Linked DNA regions of Homo sapiens: all the other regions are linked to region 2. The links are contacts of gene promoters, found by promoter capture Hi-C in blood cells and fetal thymus (Javierre and others, 2016). All regions are on one chromosome and are shown on one strand. The core of a region is centred on a gene start or on the middle of the fragment in contact, and the rest is flanking DNA. Distances in the headings are between cores, read along the strand shown.

Region 1 (4,516 bases), core at 552-3,051, 290 kb after region 2:
ACAATTAGGATGCACTACAGTTCAGTAAGCCCCCAAACTCTCTTGTGCTATTCCTCAGTAGGCACACCTGCTTCCACCCTTAATCACTGCTGACCACTGATCATTCTCTGCTATTGTAATTTTGTCTTTTTTACAATGTCATTATAAATGGAACCATACACTGTGCAACCTTTTGAGACTGGCTTTTTTCATTCAGCATAATAACTTTCATAACTAGGTTTTAATTTCTTTCTTTTTCTTTTTTCTTTCTTTCTTTCTTTCTTTCTTTCTTTCTTTCTTTCTTTCTCTCTCTCTTTCTTTCTTTTTCTCTCTATTTCTTTCTTTTTCTTTCCTTCTTTCTCTCTCTTTCTCTTTTCTTTCTTTCTTTCCCAGCTATAAAGATAATACTGTAGAGTAAATTATGTGACTCCATCCAAAAATGCTGATTTCACTGACATAAATGTTGAGTCTAGATGATCCTAGGAATATATCAATATATTCCCTCCAGGGTATCTATGCTCATTTAGGGGTGACAGTGTATATGGAGTTTACTTCCTAGGCACACTCAATCTGTTGTCACTTGGTATTTGCTGTACTTCATAAAATGCTCATTCATATTCTTCTTATTAGGCTAACATTTGTTTTATTTCTCTTTTTTAAAATGACATTTTTAGTCTGAGCCCGGTGGCTCACGCCTGTAATCCCAGCACTTTGAGAGGTCAAGGCGGGGGGATCACCTGAGGTCAGGAGTTTGATACCAGTCTGGCCAACATGGCAAAACCCCGTCTCTACTAAAAATACAAAAATTAGCTGGGCATAGTGGCAGGCACCTGTAATCCCAGCTACTCAGAAAGCTGAGGCAGGATAATTGCTTGAACCCAGGAGGCGGAGGTTGCAGTAAGCAGAGACTGAGCCTCTGCACTTCAGCCTGGGAGACAGAGCAAGATTCCATCAAAATAAAATATAAAATAAAATATAGAATAGAATAGAATAGAATAGAATAGAATAGAAAAAATAAAATAAAATACATAAAATTTTTAAAGGATGTATTCCTTACCTGTCTTTGTAAATCATGTTTTGGATGGAAAACTTAAATACATACATACCCCAATCCACCAGACATTATACAATGGGATAAAATTTAACATTCTTTTTTTTTTAAGTTTTGAAACAAATAGCTTTATAGAAATCTTTCTAAGAAGGAAAACAACAAACAGAATGTTTAAAATTCTGCCCTAGAATATAATCTTCATTATCATAGCCATCCTTTATGTTTATAAATCAGTTTCCCCTCCATCCTCTGTTTGAAATCAAGAGTCCTGAAAAGGGAAGGAGCCCAATTATTTTTAGTGTTATTGTGCAGATGAGAAATGTAAAAACCAAAGGGGAGAGGAGTAGTCAAAGGTTACACAGATGGTTGGTGATAGAGCCAGAATTAGAATGCAAAACTTTGGGTTCAATTCTGCTCACTAAGCCTCTGGTATTGCAAAAAATTTTTTTCTATTAGATAATCACAAAGACTTTGTTAGATCTTTGTTTTAAAAGACAGGAATAGTCTCTTATGAAAAACAAAGACTGTCTAATCATGGTACTTTTTTTTTTATATAACCTCATGAATATTTTGATAGTAATCCTTTTCTGTTCTTTTTGTTTGATTCTGGTCCCACAGAGCAGTGGGGTTTGAGGATACCACTCATTTGCCATCACAACCACACAAGTAGACACTTTTGTTTCCAGAGAGTAAAACTGTAAAAGACTGAATTCATTTCCTAGTTCCCTATTCCCCTGCTTCCCATTTTAGAGCCTTCCAAAAATAAAGTCTACTACAAAGCAGGACTTATTAGAAAATAAGACAGGATTCTCTTCTCCCTTGGAATTGCCATGGGATCTGGTAGTCACTTCTTTATGCCCTTGGGATCAGGTTTATGGGAAAATTTTACAATGCAGGGGATAAGTAATATTTCAATGGAAGTGGTTATGATTTTAGTTCATATCTTCACAGACATTTTGTTTGGGATTTTATCTGAAATGTGCTGCACATTGGCAATTTGGAAACCATTATCTTCAAAATCATGGAAACAAAAGCTGAGAGCCTCTTTAAAGCTGACTGGGTCTTAGTAATGGAGGAAGGCAATGCTTAGCCCTGGTGCATAAAAATTGCTTTATGTTCTCTTAACCACCTTTTCACCCATCCCCGGGACATACCCTGCACTGCCTCCAATCAAGAACAGTGCCTAAGCTGGGCATGGTGGCTCACATCTATAATCCCAGCACTTTGGGAGGCTGAGGCATAGGGATCACCTGAGGTCAGGAATTTGAGACCAGCCTGGCCAACATGGTGAAACCCTGTCTCTACTAAAAGTACAAAAATTAGCCGGGTCTGGTGGTGCACGCCTGTAATGCCAGCTATTCGGGAGGCTGAGGCAGGATAATCGCTTGAACCCGGGAGGTGGAGGTTGCAGTGAGCCGAGATGCACCACTGCCCTCCAGCTTGGGTGACAGAGCAAGACTCTGTCTCAAAAACAACAACAACAACAACAATAAACAGTGCCCAGTTGTCATATGGCTCTCCTGCAGGGATGACCCGCAGCCACCCCATGCTGCAGAAGCCTACTCAGGGTAAGTAATAGGCCCAAAATGAATTCATTAATTAACAAGGGTGATGGGAAATTGTAAACACAGCTGCTGGCTGCTGGCTCTGCAGACCTGCGTGCATATGGCAAGCGCAGAAATCTTGTGTGGTAACACAGCCATACTGTCTGGGGCTCCTTAACTGAACTTGACAGAATATCTTTGGCAGAGGAGCCAACAGCAATGTGGAAGTCTCTCCAGAGGTACCCTGAGGCAGGACTCATTTTTGCTCGGAGTTTCTCTCCTTACAGTCAAGCTGATGATGAGAGAGTCTTGGCAAAGAGTGGGAAGACAGCAGCCACCCATTTACAAATGGGCATATTTTCCAGTCATTGAGCAATTATGTTTTTGATGAGTTCCCAGAAGAGACAATAGCTGACCTTTTCTTCATAGCTGCCTTTTAGCAGTGGTTACTTAACTTTCACCCAAAAGTGGGCCACAGCAGTTTTCTGCCTGGGAGGGACACATTTATTCCTTTAGCAGACCAAGTTGTTTGATATACAAGATAGCACCTTAACTTTCCAGAGACCTAGGGTCTAGAAAATATTTCCATACTTGCTTTTTCATATGAACTCACCTATGGATGAAGAAAGCAAGGTTCAGAGACCTCAAGGAACTTGCATGAGGTCAAATAAAAAGCAAGTGGGAGGTCTGCAACTTGGATCTTCAGTCTCTGCACTCTGTGTTCTTTCCACTACATCCTACGTGCCCCACCAGGCCTTTGGAGAGGAGCAGGAAGTCATAACGAAGTCTGACTATTGGCCCAAAGTGTTGGAATCCCTCAACACGCTGCTGGAACCAGGGCTCAGACTTGCTGACGAACACTTGCTGCATCAATATTTGGACCAAAACAAAGCTCATTGACAGTACGTTCTGGTAGCAGAAAAAGAAAACACATGAGGCAGCTTGTTTGTAATTAAAAATGAGGAAAACAAGTGGACTCACAGGCAGGCCCAAGATGAATTCCTGATGAATTCCTTCCTACTGTGGGCAAAGTGTTTTCCATTTGTGCTTCAGAAGGCCCACACGATGTCTAGCCCTCCAGGAATTTCTAATACTGGGTTCTTTGAACAATTCAACTTGACCCATATACATACAGGATTGTGTATCTGTGGTTTGCAAAGCACCATGGTAGAGGTGGGGGTATCAGAAATGATTAAAGCAGGCTTCCTGCTTTTGAATTGCTTCCAGTCTTGTGGAAAAGACTGACCTGTTGTAAACAACTTTTTGGAACATGAGGCAGAATGAAATAAATGCCATAACTGAATGAAAAATTAAGTGCTATGTGAACCAGAGGATCACGACAGAGAAAATGGAAGACTTCAGGTAGAGGAGGGATTTGGGGTGGGCCTTGAGGGACAGTAGGATTTAGATAGAAGAAAGCAGGAGAAAAGCATGCTGAGGTCATGGCCCAAAGGAGCAGAAGCCTGTCTTCTGTGTTCTGTCACACCAGGGGATGTCCGTAGGGTGAGGAACCTGTGAATGGCTGGGAACAGAGGAAAGGGGACCAGGCATCAAGGAGGAAGTTCAGAGAGGTGTTAGGACTTGAGATGAGGTTTTAATGCATTTATGCCCAGAGACCTGGGAAGGCTTAGATCTACTCCACCAGTCAGTTCTTTTCCCAGTTGATTTCTTGATGAAAATGGAGTCAAGGAATAGAACCTAAATGGAGATGTAATTAGTCCCACATGTACCCAATAGCCCTCAGTGCAGAATGCTGGGGAAAGTGCTGTCTTAAGCTTGAAGACTAAGTTGGGCTTTAAATCTCACAAAAGACTTGAATCTGAATCCTTCTAACCAGCTCAATTCTATATAGTGGCAAACAGCAGCATGCTCAGACAAGCATATGGAGATGTAATACATTTGGCCTACTTGGATGTATACTCCCAGCCATATGAAGATAATG
Region 2 (4,774 bases), core at 792-3,291:
CTAAACATGGTGGTGGGCACCTGTAATACCAGCTACTGGGGAGGCTGAGGCAGGAGAATCACTTGAACCCGGGAGGTGGAGGTTGCAGTGAGCCAAGATCACGCCACTGGACACAGTGAGTGAGAGTCCGTTTCAAAAAAAAAAAAAAAAAAGAAGAGATCTTAAAGAAACGATTACAGAAACTAACTTTACAATTTCTTCCTTATTTGTTCATGACAGTTGCTAGAAAATAATGGAAATGATTTAGACGATGAAAGCCTATTTAGGGAAGGCTCTAAGAGTACCAGATTAGGAGCCAGGAGCCCAGGAGCTGTTCCGTGATGATGTTGGGCAGAACACACTCTCTCTCGAGCCTCAGATTTCTTATCTATAAAACCAGAGTTTTCTGGGGGTCTTTAAGTTGTCTTTCAGCCCTGCAGTGAGAGGAGATATGTCATTCCTAAAACTTGAAATGAAGGCATATGTTTATTTATTAACTCTCTAGCTTCTAGACAGATTTACTGTATGTGACTTATGTGCCCAACCTGACATTATCTTTTAGATAAACTCCCAAATACAAAGATGATAAAATTTTTTCATTTTAAACTTATAGGTCTGCATCAACCTGTTTCCATTGTCCTAAGTTTTATTTACATACGATGGCTAGTCAACTTTATATGATAATTATCTTTAAATCCTGCTTTTTTTTTTTTTTTTTTTTTTTTTTTTTGAGACAGAGTTTTGCTCTTGTTGCCCAGGCTGGAATGCAATGGCGCGATCTCCAGCTCACCGCAACCTCCGCCTCCCGGGCTCAAGCAATTCGCCTGCCTCAGCCTCCCGAGTAGCTGGGATTACAGGCATCTGCCACCACACCCGGCTAATTTTGTATTTTTAGTAGAGACGGGGTTTCTTCATGTTGGTCAGGGTGGTCTAGAACTCCCAACCTCAGGTGATCCGCCCGCCGCAGCCTCCCAAAGTGTTGGGATTACAGGCGTGAGCCACCGCGCCCGGCCGAATCCTGCTTGTTTTAATGTATTCATTAAAAATGTCTCCATTATAGAGTAAAACGACTCAACGCCATGGCAGAGAGCAAGAAACGAAGTACCCTTAAAGCCGTAGTTGGTACAGGTAATGATTCCGTGGGGTCTATTAGGCCACAGGGACTCAAAATCCAGAAGAGGAGGGAATGCTGATAATTACCTAACACCAACGTTGCTGCTGGCTTCTCAGCCGTAGTCACCTCCCACTCAGATGTTTTGGAAATTGTCCAGTGTTCAGAAACATCACTTTCTCTGACCTTTTACAAAATTCCTGTGTTTCAGGATTTTAAAGTGCGTGAGAAAGGAGTCTAATTTGCAGTCACCAAAAACACCAAATACAGAGAGAGGACTGGGGAGAATGAATTGCTAAGACTTAGCTACCAAATGTGTATCAAGATAGGTGTAAAGATCCCAGGTGAAGTGAGGCACTGGAGAGGGTACACTTTTAACTTAGTGTATAGCTAAAACCCAAAGATGTGTGTCAGATCGAGGGAAACTTTTTTCCTCCTCTTCAAAATCTTTTTTCCGTTTGCAGAGCTCCAGACGTCCTCGCCCTTTGGAACAGCGGAGAGTCATTTAAAACTTAACTGAACGCTGGAGGGAAGTTCTACTTACCAGGTCATCCAATTTAGGAGATCCAATTTCTGCGGAGGGAACAAAAAGACGGGTGGGGGAGGGAAAAACTAGACCCCTTGTCCTACTATCCTTCTACCTTCAATCCACAACCTGCCAGACAAATCCAGCCAAGTCAAGATTTTGCCTTGAACCACCACCACCACCACCACCACCACCGCCGCCACCACCACCACCACCACCGCCGCCACCACCACAACCACCACCACCTTGTCACTCACGCCCGAGAAACACGCCCCTCTGGTCCTCCTCTTGGCCAATGGCGGCTCTCCTCTCTGCATAGTAATGAGCTCGAGACCTCCCCGGGCCAATGGCGCTCCGGGAGAAGGGATACTTTTGCATGTACCTAAGTGATTTGCATAAGCCAGCGGCCGGGGGTTTGGGAACCAGAGCGTGCAACCCTAGAAGGGAAAAGGACGGGAAGAGATTGAGCCGCGGCTGGGAGACAGCGAGCCAGAGTCTGGGTGTTTGTGCGAGAGCCACGGCGGGGGCTGGGGCGAGTGGCCGGCATGGCTGAAGGCTGCGCTCTGCAACCTTGAAGAGCCGCTGCATTGAGAGGCCAGGGACAGGGAGACCGGTGCGATGGCAGAGCGCGGCCCCCGCCGCTGCGCCGGGCCGGCCCGGCTGGCGTGAGCCGCCGGAGGAGCGGGGCTGCCTCTGCGCGTCCATGGAGCAGCGGGAAGGGCGAAACTCCGGAGCGCCGCGTCCCTGCGCCGCTGCGGCGGACTGCTGAAGGGGCCGAGCCCGCGCGGACCGCCGAGGAAGAGACCCCCGCTCCAGCCCGCAGGCCGGCTGCCCGGGGGCGGCGGGGGACATCGGAGGGCAGCGGAGCGAGCAGCGCCGCGGGAGAGGCCGGCGCGGGAGGCGGCCGCAGCAATGCCGGGCCCGCTAGGGCTGCTCTGCTTCCTCGCCCTGGGGCTGCTCGGCTCGGCCGGGCCCAGCGGCGCGGCGCCGCCTCTCTGCGCGGCGCCCTGCAGCTGCGACGGCGACCGTCGGGTGGACTGCTCCGGGAAGGGGCTGACGGCCGTGCCCGAGGGGCTCAGCGCCTTCACCCAAGCGCTGTGAGTGCGGGCGGCGGGGACGCGAGGGGGGGGGAGGAAACGGGGCCCAGCGGGGGGCGCCGCGGGGCGGAGCCAGGGGTCAGTCCCACCCCACCCCGCCCCGCCGCCGCCCGGGCCTGGGGAGGGGGTCCGCCGGTCACCTGCGTGCGGGCTGCCTGGCACCCACTCCTGTGCCACGGGCTTTCCGCACTTTGCTAGTCCGGGTTCGAGCCAGCAGTAGCTTTCGTTCCCAGACTTTTTGGGCACAAGCACCCTCCCACCCCACCGCGCACACCCCCAACTCACAAGTGCATCTGGGGCCAAGAAGGAGGAAGTAATCTAAAAACGCTTGCCCCTGGCAGCCTGTCCACGCGACCTTCCCTTCTCATGAGGGCCCTCGCTCAGCGGGCAGGAGTTCCGCTACTGGCGGGGCTGAGGGCGCCGAGAACTTGGCCTCAGTCTGCATACCGAGGCATGTCTCGTGGGGAAGCACCTGGAGCCTCCTGGGTTCCAGCATGTGGGGAGAAGAAACACCTGTACCTCAGTCAGGGCGAATCTCCTTCCAATTTGGCCCCATCCAGGTAGTGCGTCCCGGCACCTACCTCGGCCCAGTTCCACTCGGGACTACCCCACTAACGCCCAGGCTTCTGCAGCACGCAGGGGAGTCCGAGAAAACAAGGGAGAATTACAGGGTTCTGTTGGTGGACATGCTCTTACCCAACAAGGCCTTTTAAAGAAGGAATGCTGACCTGAGGTGCAGGATGTTGGAAGAGAAGCAAGTTCCGGAGCATATGCTCAGCCCAGGCTGCAAGGTAGCAGCAGGTTTCTAATGCACCTTCACGCAGCCAGCAGATCTTTTCTTTTGAGCTGCCTGAGATCGAGAGACACACTGAAATGTTTCAGACTTACAAAATCGCCCTGCCAAAACGGACTTGAGAGCTTTAGACGTTCCCTTGAGAAAAGAAGAGGAATCTGAACTAGGTTGTGGAGGTGGTGGCAAAGGCCACGGATAGAGGAGGAACAGGGTAGGGTTTTTGTGTTCTTATTGCTTCTTGCGTTGCGTGGCCAGCTGAATGCTTAAATCAGGAGCAGTCGAAGAAACGTGTGAGAGAGGAAGGGATCCTGAGGGGCCCTAGGGTAGAGGGAATTTCCTTTTACCTGTAGTGGAAGGGACCTCTTAGAAATAGACAGTTTTAAAGGACCCTGTGAAGAAATCTTTATGCAGGCAGGAGCATTGCTGTATTTCCAGGTGGGTGGTGGCAAAGGTGTTCCGCTTGCCCTCTCAGGATGGACTTTTAGTGAGCATCGAGGCCTGTTGTCTTGGAACCTGTTTCATTCTTCTACCTTCAGCCTTCCCCTCCCCATTTGTTATTTTTCCTGTCTCAGGTTAGTTTTAGTTATGTATTTGAGGTTTTTTTTTTTTTTCAGTATAGTGAAGTTTAACTTGTCATTAAAAAAAAAAGTTAACTTTGCAGTGAAGAGCATTTTGTTCATAAAGTTACATTAAGTGGGAAAGTTTGAGCAGGAATTGATTGAATCAAGAGAAAGAAGACCTGTGGAGAGGAAATGGGACTAATTTTTCCCCAAGTTCTCTAGAAACGTTTAGGGAATTCGTGCAGAAAGAAATGCAGAAAGAAAGGTCCCTTTACCTGAACCTCTTGCAAGGCTCTGCATAGAATAGAAAAGCACAATTTTACTATTTTGACCAGTAGTAAAGACCTTGTTTAGCAGATTCCTCACATTTTAGTGAGTAGACTTGTCCTATAAGGAAACGGGCTGTTTTACATTAGTATCTAAAACCACAGAGAAATAATCACACTTTTATGAGAGCATACTCCTCTCTCCAAAGCATCTTCTGGTAGAACTCACTGAAGGTGGTGAAATGCTGTATCTTCAACTTTGGGCCTTAGAATAAGTTAGTGTTCATGGCTTAGGAAACAGAAAAATAATTGGTACCAGTCTCAATTAGAGTGCCTAAACTAGCATTATCTTAGCACTTTCTGAGCTTTGGTGGTGTGCAAATGTGTTTTATTTTCTTAGATTTGTGACCTGTAGGTAGAGTGATCGTACATTCTGGTGACT
Region 3 (5,071 bases), core at 1,978-4,477, 280 kb after region 2:
ATTAAACCTATATGCCATTACTGAACAAAATGCCTACAGTATACTGTGAATTAACGTATTACATAAATCCTAAATTAATTTTTGAACAGCGTAAGTACATAGCATGTATTTTTGAACATTAGAAGTATACCTTTGTTAAACACAAAAATTTAACACATATCATAATTTCAAAAACTATTTTGGCATATATATATTTTGTAATTTGCTACAAACCTCAAGGAATAGAAGTAGTCTGCCTGCATACCTGAATCATCTGGACCGAAGTTCAAATGTACCCCGAAGTGTCATTATACACTTGCAACAGCTTCTTAGATAGAATGCAGGATTCCATTAAGCACAAAGATCTTTAGAGTTAGACTGAAAAGACGTTCACATATTTTTAGATTCTATTGCATTCAAAAGTCTATAACATGAGATAGAAGAGACATACAAAGATCTTAGGAACCAAAGAAAATACATAATCTAATCAAGAGATTGAGCTGGGCTGCAGTTTCAGATATATGTGAATAGATGGACGAATCAGGGTTTGTGTATAACTTGAGTCCCATGATTTGATCATGCCTCCTTTGAAGTTATAAAACCATTGATATAACCACTAAAAATAGAGTTCAATTGTCACATCAAGGCCACCAACATCTCTGATAATTACAACGCCCCACATTTCTCTGGATGATTTGATAGTTTTCTTAGTTTTTGTAAAAGCTGTCACAAGGAAGTCTGAATCTCCAAATCTTATGTCCAGTATAACAGCTCTTTGAAAGGTAATTTCAATTAACAAGGATGACGTTTGTGTTTCTTACTGGATAAGTATCTTTAATTTCCTGGAAAGCTTAGATTATATATACAAATGATGATTCAAATCATCATAAAAATATTTTTGTATTAAGAGCCAGACTACATTTGGCATTTCTATATACTTGTAATATTTAAGATAAAAGAATATTTATATTATTCTAATTTAAAATGCATACTAATAAATTATTGACATACAACTTTAAATGGAAATTCATATCAATCATATTTATAAGTATAATTTATTAGATTAAGTATTTGGGAACATTATTGATCAGACAATTGGGGCCCTGAAAGTGAAATTGAATTTCTAAATGTAGTTTAGACAATTTGAAGAAATGTAATTACCTAAGTCTGCAAATATAATCAAGCATTGGTTAAAGACTCTTTAAAAGTGACTAAAAAAGGTGACATTAAAATTTGCTCCATTTCTAAATGGGAAAATAAAGATTCATAAGTTGAATGTGAAACCCAAAGATAAAATATGTTCTTAGATTTATAACTTTAGTAAGTTGACTATTAAAATTCAAGATAAACTCTTCATTAGTCTTATCAATGCACACAACTTACTCTCAGGGCCGCAAAATAACTTAGATTCAAAGAGGTGTCCTCCTGAGGTCACATGGCTCATAAGTGGCACAGTCATAACTTGAGCCCAGGGTCCAGGCCCTGTATCTTTTGGTTGAACCTTGCTGCCCCTCTTGGCTGCATTTTCAGTACCTCCTTTATTAGCACCTGTAATATTTTGTCCTGGATTTTAGGTTGTTTATCTGTGTCTACTTGCGTCTTCCCAGCTGCCAACACTAGGTCAGACATGGGGTGGAGGTGGGGGTAACTCAATAAATGTGTCAGATTCAAATGATGGTAACCCATAAGCAGCCTCTGAGAAAGGGCGTCTTCCTGGTGTGGGGGATGGATAGATAATGTTTTCTCTCTGTGATACTGTTTAGCTTTAAGGGGGTCTAAGTCTGCAGCCCTGGACTCCAGAGACCCATACTCTGATGAAGTGGATGTAAACTAGCCCTGTTCTGTCTGCCTTATTTAAGATTTAATTCCATGGATAAGCTTCCTACTGCTCTCAGGATAAAGAATAAAATCCTTCCAAGCTCAGGGAGACCAGTATTGTCTAGCCCCTGCCCATCTCTCTAGATTCTTATTCCACCTGCTCTGAGTACCCTGGCCTTCATTGAGTTCCTTGAACAAACCAAGATTATCCCTAGATGTAGGCAGGTCTCCACATTGGCCATTCTTAGAGCTCTCTGAACCTCCTCTCTTTCACAGCACTTGCTAGAGGTTGTAACTATCCACTTTTATTTGTAGTTATTTATTTAATATCTTCCTCCTATGGAAAGTCTTTAGCTCTGTGCAAAGTGCCTGCTTTGCTCACCCTTAAGCTTTGTGCACTGTAGGGTTTTAATAAATGCACACTTCTATTATTAATATCTTTACCATTTAATACGTATCTGTTGTTGTGATGGATGAATGAATTAATATGTGGGAATCGATTTTATGGTGATCTTTTGGACTGGCCTGATCTCCACTCAGCCGGGAAAGATTTCAGATGAAATCTTATCAGACAGATAGGGGACATGATGTCTGAGATTCCTTCCAGGCCAATGAGCCTTTTACTTCAGGAAGGCTGTTTGTCACTTTGCTTTAGCCATTGCTTTTATCATTCTTACGGGGATCTGTGGCTGTGTGTGTGTGTGTGTGTGTGTGTGTGTGTGTGTGTGTGTGTGTGTGTATCACCAGAAAGAAAGAGAGAGAGACAGAGAGAGACAGAAAAAGAGAGACAGAAAGTGTGCTGGCATGCAAGGTGATGGGAAATGACCCAGGGAGGCCCCTGGAAACGACCTTGGTTTCCCTGCTTGCCTCATTCAGGCAAGTGAGATCTCATTTGGCAGGGAGTGCATCAGCTGAAAAATGTCAAGCCCTGCACATCAGTGAGTTTTGCATTTCCAAATGATGGGTTTATGATTAAACTCCAATAACTCAAATGCACCATCCGTGAAGGATGCCAGTTCCATCTGGTAATTCTTGTTCTCTTTAATCCCTTCCCCTGTTTATTTTCTGGTCTGTGCCTCAAAATCCCTCAAACCACAGCCATGGGTGGGTGTTTAATCAAATTTTCTGATGACATGTAGACGCTTACCCTCATGGGTAATCATCTACGTTACCTATCCTGAAAATTGTAGAAAAAGACACCAAAGAGCATGAGGCTAGTGAGGGAGATAAGCTGATCCTAAAAACAGGATCCTTGCTTTCTTCCTTGGAAAGACCAGAGTAACCCTGACCTCTAGCTGGGTGGAGACAGCTAGACAGAGAATTCAACTGGTCCCTCCTGCTCTGGTTGGTGGATGTTGCCTGATCCTCTGGGACTAAAAGATAATATTTGGAAATCTCCATCCTAAAAATGTTCACTGTACCCTGCCTGGCTTCTCTTCCCCTCCTCAAAGAATATCACCATTTATTTAGTCCTCAAGATTGGCAAGGCATGAATTCCTGTGTTAGTTCAAATTACACCCAACAACTCTGTGAGGTAGGTGTTACTGCACCCACTTCCCCAGCAGGAAAACGGAGACTTAGAATTTTGTAACTTGCCTGGCACATACCATTACGAGGTGGCCAAATCAGCATTCTTAATCAGGGTTGTCAACTCCAAAGCCTGTTTTCCTTTTAACTCTGAGTCTGGGAGAGACCCTAGGGAGGGTTCAGGTGTCTGGTCTTTTCCCCTCCTCTACGGGGACTTGCTTTGTGGGAAAGGTCTCTCAATCACTGTGCTTATTTGTTCTACGTCTACCTAACTAATTCCTATTTATATTCAGAAGCCAGGCTGATTCTTCTTCCAGATACGTCAGTCCCTGTAAAAGCAAGCAGCTGTCTCCCAGGCCCTTCACTTTCTTGGTGATAACATCTTCATTCTTGCAGACTGAGAGCTCTGTTTGAAACCATGAGGTGAATCAATGAAGCTACCCAATAATGACCCAAAATGGAATTTGAAAGCCCACTGGGGGTTGAAATGTCCAAGAAAGTGTAATTCAGTTTTCTGTTTATCTTTCTCTGTGTGTTTTTAAGATGTTCTAGTCTCAACTAGAGATTTTTCTGGTTGATGAATGGGTTTCAAGCGAACTCTGTTCAGATGAGAATAGGGGGAGGACATAGAAAAACAGTTTCATTCTCTCTTTGATGAGATGATTGAGCTGAGCATGTGGGTGGTGAGATAGGTGCAGTAAGAGGAGGAATTCTAAAAAAAAAAAAAAGCAATAAAAATTTCAGTTCTTTAAAAATGCATTAGCTGATGTAAGGACAATGTTGCTTATGTAATGTGGGCATCTCAGCTTTCCATGGTGGGGTGTCTTCCAGTATGTGTCTGGGTTGATCCACTGACATGGCTAAGATTTTTCAGTGGCTTGCAAACTAACACATTAAGCTAATGGACTTTTTCTGTATTACTTTATTCAGAAGAACAAAGCTTGCCCAGGGCAGTTTGACATGTTCCTATTAAGATACAGTGTTTACCTGACTTCACAGTATCTTATTTTTCTCATTTTAAACTTTTACAGTCACTCAAATAATTAAAAATAATCACATGTTCTTTTAGACATTTTCTATAAAGAAAACATTTATTTAAAAAATTTGATTATGATAGCAGACTATATTTTTTATTTGTTAGTATAACATTGTCCTTGTTCCAAGGCTGCAAATACTTCTATGATATGGTTCTTTCATTTTCTCACATTTATTGAGCACACACTCTCATTCTATTACATGAATGAACCATTATTTAGTTAATACATCTCTCATTGTTAAGAAATTTGATTGTTTACAATATTTTGAAACTATAAACATTGCTGTGATAAACTTGCTTATACATATACAAGATTCTTAGATTAAATTTTCAGAAGTGGAACTGCTAGGTCAAGAGTGGCATTCCTACTTCTGAAAAGGTATGTTTAAATTACTCTTTAGAAAAGTTATACTATTTACGCTTCATCCATGAGTGTGCATTTCCCTGTACTTTCGTCTGATCATAGAAACTTGTTTTTTTGTGTGTGTGCCTGTGACTTACCCAGAGACTTCTTAGCCTACTAATAAATGGCATGTTAAGAAAGCTGACAAAGTTGGAGACTTTAAATACATTCAGGAATCTCAATTTAAGAAACACTCATAGACTATAAGTAGTGAGGCATCCTGCAAGCTGGTGAGAACACAAATACCACTAAGACCAGCCACTGTCTGCAAGAAGCCCACTGAATACCAAAGGAATTAGACGTGGAAG

What was found. Contacts are between HindIII fragments. The CHiCAGO score rates a contact against its expected background, and 5 or more counts as called.
Region 1: a contact is called between a fragment that was not itself captured here and the fragment with the promoter of LGR4 in region 2, in 10 of 17 cell types (erythroblasts, naive CD4 T cells, endothelial precursors and 7 more). The highest score is 9.2, in erythroblasts.
Region 3: a contact is called between a fragment that was not itself captured here and the fragment with the promoter of LGR4 in region 2, in 7 of 17 cell types (erythroblasts, activated CD4 T cells, total CD4 T cells and 4 more). The highest score is 9.8, in erythroblasts.

What each region holds. Positions count from the first base shown.
Region 1 is chr11:27,177,884-27,182,399 of GRCh38, reverse strand. The region is part of intron 2 of BBOX1-AS1 (BBOX1 antisense RNA 1); the gene reads left to right. Among named protein-coding and RNA genes, the nearest start is that of BBOX1-AS1, 39 kb to the left of the region's middle. The HindIII fragment of the contact is 5,101 bases long and covers 1-4,351 here.
Region 2 is chr11:27,470,057-27,474,830 of GRCh38, reverse strand. LGR4 (leucine rich repeat containing G protein-coupled receptor 4) reads left to right here and starts at 2,041. Exons shown (of 18, transcript NM_018490.5): 1 at 2,041-2,713. The coding sequence starts at 2,529. It overlaps LGR4-AS1 (LGR4 antisense RNA 1), which reads right to left and starts at 3,100. Exons shown (of 4, transcript NR_131170.1): 1 at 2,999-3,100; 2 at 1,874-2,053; 3 at 1,635-1,663. RefSeq lists silencers at 2,268-2,317, 2,448-2,617, 2,868-2,927. The HindIII fragment of the contact is 11,499 bases long and covers 1-4,774 here.
Region 3 is chr11:27,195,156-27,200,226 of GRCh38, reverse strand. All of the region lies in intron 2 of BBOX1-AS1 (BBOX1 antisense RNA 1), which reads left to right. Among named protein-coding and RNA genes, the nearest start is that of BBOX1-AS1, 21 kb to the left of the region's middle. The HindIII fragment of the contact is 2,078 bases long and covers 2,189-4,266 here.